2 separate regions of the Homo sapiens genome follow, and region 1 is linked to region 2. Evidence: promoter capture Hi-C in 16 types of primary human blood cells and fetal thymus (Javierre and others, 2016). All regions are on one chromosome and are shown on one strand. The core of a region is centred on a gene start or on the middle of the fragment in contact, and the rest is flanking DNA. Distances in the headings are between cores, read along the strand shown. Region 1 holds the start of IFNE (interferon epsilon). Region 2 holds the start of IFNA2 (interferon alpha 2).

Region 1 (3,314 bases), core at 728-3,227, 97 kb after region 2:
TGACCTTGTGATCCACCCTCCTCAGCCTCCCAAAGTGCTAGGATTACAGGCCTGAGCCACCACGCCCAGCTGTGGGCAAGTATTTTTATAGGACACATTTCCAGGCCTAGAATTTATAGATGAAAGGCTACATGCATCTGTAATAGATATCACCTAATTGCCTCCATAGTGGTTGTACTATAAATGGCATGCATGCTATTTAATTTGTATTTCTATTATCATGAGTGAGATTGAACCTCTTTTAATGTAGTTTTTTTTCTCTGCAAACTGTTCATGTCCTTTCACCATATTTCTATTGTGTCTCCTGTAATGTAAATATTCACTGTGTAATAATATTTTCAAATCTTAAAATGCAAATTATTCCCAATATTTCTCATTGTCTCTAGCAATTTCTGGCAAATAAGCAAATCATTGCAATGGAGTTCTATGTTAAGGAAAGTATTTTTACATTAGTGGCATATTTTATTGTATCTACCCAGCCAGCCTGTATGAAAATACACCCATTTGAAGAATCAACCATATTAATGAATTTATTTTGACATACAAACAATTTAAAATGGATAGAATATATAAAGCCACATTACAAAATAAAAACAATTGTGGTCAATATGCACAATCTTAAAACACAGATAAATATATATATACACAAAATCAAAGCAATGTGATTGTACTATAAATTGTATTACCACTCTATGAAGAATCATGTCTGGAGAAGTCCTCTAGTCCCTCCACCTACCTCGGGCTTCTAAACTCTGTAGTAAGCTCTTGCTTCATGTCGTTCAAGGGTCTTCCTTGTTTGCTCAGTTTTTCTGTGAGACTGAACACAAAGAACAGACATCGGCTGATTTCTACTTGGACAATGGCCCAGGCACAGGTGCTGTAGTCCTGGTTTTCCAGGTAATCATGGATCCTTCGGAAGTACATTTTAACTTGTAATCTAAGGTTATCACTACCCAAAGTACCACTTAGCTTCTCTGCTTCCAGTCCCATGAGTGCTTCTAGGTATTCTAGCTGTTGATGAAGTTGAATGAGGAATTTCTCCGTGTGGTTTTCCTCCCAACCATCCAGAGAAATATTTGCCCTGAAGAGGCTGAAGATCTGCTGAAGCATCTCATGGAGAATGGCCAGAGTGTGTCCTTTTTGGTACTGCTGAGGACTCAAAGACTTCTGAGGAAGCAGAAAGTTTTTCCTGTGTGGTAGACACTGCTGAATTGACAAGGTTTGCAACTTATTCAAGAGTTTTAAACTTTCTTGATTCACTTGTCTTTGCTGGAAGATAATCAGTTTCAAATCTAGAGAGAAGATAGTGGTAGAGGCCAGCAGCACCAACACAGTTCCAAAGAAGTGCTTGATAATCATGGTGAAGGTCAAATATGCTACTTATCCCTGCATAGACTTAGGGAAATTCCAGCTCTAGTGAATGTTTGCCTTTCATGCATCTCAGATTATTTTGGAGAGTGTTCTCTTTTGTTGCTTTCGTTTTCTAATGTCATTTCTCCAAGTTTACACATTAGATTTTCAGGTTCCCTTTTCATGGTGTTCAGAGTACATTTTCTCCATTTCCCTATTGTGTTGGCTATTTTGAGGAAGTACCAAAATAACTTATTCATTGTATGCTTTCCTTGAGGCAATTACAGACTAGTCATCCAACATAATCTTTTATTATTCTATTCATTATATACAAAGTTTCACTGAACACAATGTGCTTTCTAAATATTTAGTCAAGCTTATTAAAGTTCTTTTATTGAGATTACGTTTTTTTCAGTAATAGTCTTTCATGGAGTAAAACTTACCAAAGGCTTATCAGCACCTATAAAGAATTCAGGGGCAAAACTTAAAATACCTACAAACTACTAAATTTAAAACCTCAATTAGAACTGTAAATTGTCACAAATGCTTGAGCAAATAATTAATTTTAAAACATATATCAGCAATCTTAAATTATTTTATATCTTATCCTATCAGTTTAATATCTAAGATTCTAGCCTATAGAAGCAATGCAAAAAAATTAGCAAAAGAAGAGTGTTATAATATTATTGCAAAGCAGAATATTAGAAACAACCTATAGGTTCAACGACAGGTGAATGATTACATATATGTTGGTACAGCCATATAATTAAATGATATATATCCATTATAGATGACAAAATTATATGTGAAGAGAGATTGGGGGCATTTGGTTAGCGTATATTCCCTAGAATAGTGATAGCTCTGGTAAACTAATGTGAACATCTCTACATTAACAATGTCCTTTGAATTACAAATACCCAGTTCCATATTCTAAGTTCCTCTTGAATAAGCCCCCAATATACCTTTCCAATCTTATCCCACTGTTGCTCTAAATATAGTGTGAAGGAATCTGAACTCCAGATAAAGTAAGTGATTTAGTATTCCCTTAATACAGCTAGCACTTGTGTGTGTGTGTGTTTATTGATGATGCTTTCTCTGAAACATCAACTGTTGCCTCCTTTACCTCAAGAACCTTTCTGTGCAAGGACTAAAGACTACTTGTCCTTTAAGGCCCAGATCTCCCCCAAGGAGCCATAATCTTCTGGATCCCCACAACACTTTGTACCTACCTTATTTAAGACACCTTTCTTGTTCTGTCTTATACTTGACTATGTACTTACATGATTAAAAGTCTCTTCAGAGTGTGAAATAAACACTGATTACTGATTTCTTTGCTGTCTATACAACTATAGTAGTTGCTTAATAAATATGTGTTGACTTGGAATAAATTAATATGTTCTACACAAAGTAATACAAGATGTTGAGTCTTATCTTTAATCATTTCTCTGCAGGCAGCTGGGTGAATCCCTAAATGTCAAAAACAGGCACTCTGTAAACATGTATGGTCTCATTATATACCAGCTCAGCTGTATGTTTGGTCACTTAGTCTAGTATTAATAAGTTGAAATAAACTCAGTCAGCATGCTCCACAGAGGGTCTTTTCCCTCCCTATCTGAGAGAGAGAGAGAGAGAGAGAGAGAGAGAGAAAGAGAAAGAGAGAGAAAAGACATATGATAATATATAATATACGAAAGGAATAACACTTGTTTCATAACATTATGCTCAATCTATCTGGAAAGTAGAATTTTGACTAGTCTCAAAAAATCTTTAAATATTTAATGCTGAGCTTCGGGAAAACAATATAAAAATAAATTAAGAATATCAGAAGTTACTCCATCTAATAACAACGAGCTCTGATCTATAAGGCTTTCTCATCATTTTCATTCAATTGACAAAAATGATCTAAATGTTGTTTAATTTCCAAATGATCAGGGATTTTCCAGATGCCTTTCTGTTACTGATTT
Region 2 (3,210 bases), core at 534-3,033:
CCTTTTGTTTGTTTGTTATTTTGAGATGGGGTCACTCTCCCTCTGTCTCCCAGGCTCGAGTACAGTATTGTGATCATGGCTCACTGCAGCCTTGAACTCCTGGGCTGAAGCATTTATCTTCCTAAATACACTTTCATTATCTTTCTCTGCTGTTGCCTTCTAATGTACAGCCATTCCTTTGTGGCTGTGGATGTTTCCTTTGCGGCTTTTCTCTCCCCTCCCTTTAAAAGCGAAAGGTCCTCAGAATCATGTTTAAAACTTTTTCTCTCTCTACACTCTCTCCCAACACCATGACCTTCATTTCTTGGCTTTCTCTTATCACATATAAACCCCCAGCAATCGCATTCCTTGCAAATTGCAAACTTATATATCTAACTGGCAATGGACATTTTCTAATAGATGTATACTAGTCAATTTAAAGAGAATGTCTCTGTCTTATTTTTATTTCCTCACATGCCTCAATCTACCTTCTGCAGAGAGAAATCATCGGTTGTTCCTTCTTCTCTTCATACCATTTACCATAACTGATAATTAAGTATGATTACCATTTTTAGTTTTTTTCATACAAAAATCAAATACACAAGAGAGCAGAATTGTATTTGTTAGGTTCACCTTGTTATCTTGAGTACAACATACAACCTGGTTTACAGAAAGTTTATTTTTACTTATATCTTGAATATAATATTGATGGATAAATGAAGTGTACCAGTTATTCTGTAATCAGGTTGCACAATTAGGCTTGGAATTTCATTTTAAAGAATAAACAAGTACAAAAGTTTCCATAGCAAAAGTTCAATGAACAACACAAAATAAATTTACCAAATACAAAGAACATATTTTATTACATTAACCACTGTGCAAAGGTGCACATGACATAATATGAACAAAAATAAGTTGTTTTATAAATAGTTAAATAAATAATATTTTAAAAATATTTAAATAGATAATGGATCAGTCAGCATGGTCCTCTGTAAGGGACTAGTGCCTTAAGAGCTGAATACAATGTTGATTAATACTCCTAAAAACATTTGAAAAGATTTAAATCGTGTCATGGTCATAGCAGAAACATGAGTCTTTGAAATGGCAGATCATAAAAAGGTGAGCTGGCATACGAATCAATGAAAATCATTTCCATGTTGAACCAGTTTTCATTCCTTACTTCTTAAACTTTCTTGCAAGTTTGTTGACAAAGAAAAAGATCTCATGATTTCTGCTCTGACAACCTCCCAGGCACAAGGGCTGTATTTCTTCTCTTTCAGATAGAGAGTGATTCTTTGGAAGTATTTCCTCACAGCCAGAATGGAGTCCTCCTTCATCAGGGGAGTCTCTGTCACCCCCACCCCCTGTATCACACAGGCTTCCAGGTCATTCAGCTGCTGGTAGAGTTCAGTGTAGAATTTGTCTAGGAGGGTCTCATCCCAAGCAGCAGATGAGTCCTTTGTGCTGAAGAGATTGAAGATCTGCTGGATCATCTCATGGAGGACAGGGATGGTTTCAGCCTTTTGGAACTGGTTGCCAAACTCCTCCTGGGGAAATCCAAAGTCATGTCTGTCCTTCAAGCAGGAGAAAAGAGAGATTCTCCTCATCTGTGCCAGGAGCATCAAGGTCCTCCTGCTACCCAGGCTGTGGGTTTGAGGCAGATCACAGCCCACAGAGCAGCTTGACTTGCAGCTGAGCACCAGGAGGGCCACCAGTAAAGCAAAGGTCAAGGCCATTGTAGATGTTGCAGATGCTGCTAGACTGGTTGAAATGGGTGAGCCTAAACCTTAGGCTCCAGGTTCTCTGAAGACCTTGCTTTGTGCCTAGCCTTAAATAGGGAACATACTCGTTTACATTTTCCAAATGCCCCTGTGTTACTTTCTACTTCTCTTTTTGCTTTCTTTATGCACTCTTTACATGGGTTTTCAGCTGTTTTTCTCACCACATTTTTTTCATTATTGTTTCCTTCCTCTTTTACCCCAGAGCCTTTTTAGAAACTTTTTTCTGATTGAATCTCCCATTATATTTTAATCACATATACACTGTGTATCTATTTACATATCCTATGTATATCTCTATTCTATACATTAAATTAAAAAGTATAAAGTTAATGTTTTATTATTGCAAAGAATGATAAAACAATTAAAAATTAAATTAAAAGGCTATTGACATTTTACTTAACTTGATAACTATATTCTTAGAGCAACTTTTTTGAAAATAGATTTTTGTGGGTACATAAGAGGCGTCTGTGTTTATGGAATAAGTGAAATATTTTTATATAGGCAGACAATTCATAATAATCACAGCAGGGTGAATGGAGTATCCAATGCTTCAAACATTTATCATTTCTCTCTGCTACATACATCCCATTTATACTATTTTAGTTATTTTATAATATATAATAAATTATCATTAACAGTAGTCATCCTATTGTGCTATCGAATACTAAATCATATTCATTTTTTCTAACTATATTTTTGTGCCCGTTAGCCATCTCCATTTTCCCCCATATGATCCAGCAATCCCACTACTGGGTATTTATCCAAAGGAAATGAAATCAGTATGTCAACAAAATATTTACACTCCCATGTTTATTGCAGCACTATTCACAATAGCTAAGATTTGGAAGCAACTTAGGTGTCTAACAGATGAATGGATAAAGAAAATATGGCACTTATACACAATGGAGTACTACTTAGCCATAAAAAAGAATGAGATCCTGTCATTTGCAAGAACATGGATGGAGCTGGAGGACATTATGTTCATTGGACAACATTAAACCCATTGATCTGCACATACCTAACCACACTTGAATCTCTAGGACAAATTCCACTTGGTCATGATGAATGATTGTTTTAATGTGTTCTTGAATTCAGTTTGCTAATTTGTTGTTGAGGATTTCTGCATCAATGTTCATCAGAGATATTGGCCTACAGTTTTCTTTCTTTTTAATGTGTCTTTCTCTGGTTTTATATGTGATTAAAATATAATGGGAGATTCAATCAGAAAAAACACTGGCCTCATAGAATACATTTGGAAAGATTCTGTCCACCTCTATTTTTTTAATAATTTGAGTTGGATTGGTATTAGTTTTTTAAATATTTGGCAAAATTCATCAGTGAAGCCATCAGATCCTGAGTTCTTTTCTGGGATACTTTTTAGTATGGCTTCTGTCTCATTACTTGTTATTGGCCTGTTCACATTTTGTATTTCTTCATGGTTCCATGAAGA

Evidence for each region. The method cuts DNA at HindIII sites, captures the fragments that hold promoters and counts their contacts. A CHiCAGO score of 5 or more calls a contact.
Region 1: a contact is called between the fragment with the promoter of IFNE here and the fragment with the promoter of IFNA2 in region 2, in 11 of 17 cell types (total B cells, neutrophils, monocytes and 8 more). The highest score is 12.5, in total B cells.

Annotation. Positions count from the first base shown.
Region 1 is chr9:21,480,336-21,483,649 of GRCh38, forward strand. IFNE (interferon epsilon) reads right to left here and starts at 1,978. Exons shown (of 1, transcript NM_176891.5): 1 at 504-1,978. The coding sequence starts at 1,359. The coding sequence ends at 733. All of the region lies in intron 1 of MIR31HG (MIR31 host gene), which reads right to left. The HindIII fragment of the contact is 2,296 bases long and covers 1,725-3,314 here.
Region 2 is chr9:21,383,615-21,386,824 of GRCh38, forward strand. It overlaps IFNA2 (interferon alpha 2), which reads right to left and starts at 1,784. Exons shown (of 1, transcript NM_000605.4): 1 at 641-1,784. The coding sequence starts at 1,715. The coding sequence ends at 1,149. The HindIII fragment of the contact is 9,842 bases long and covers 1-3,210 here.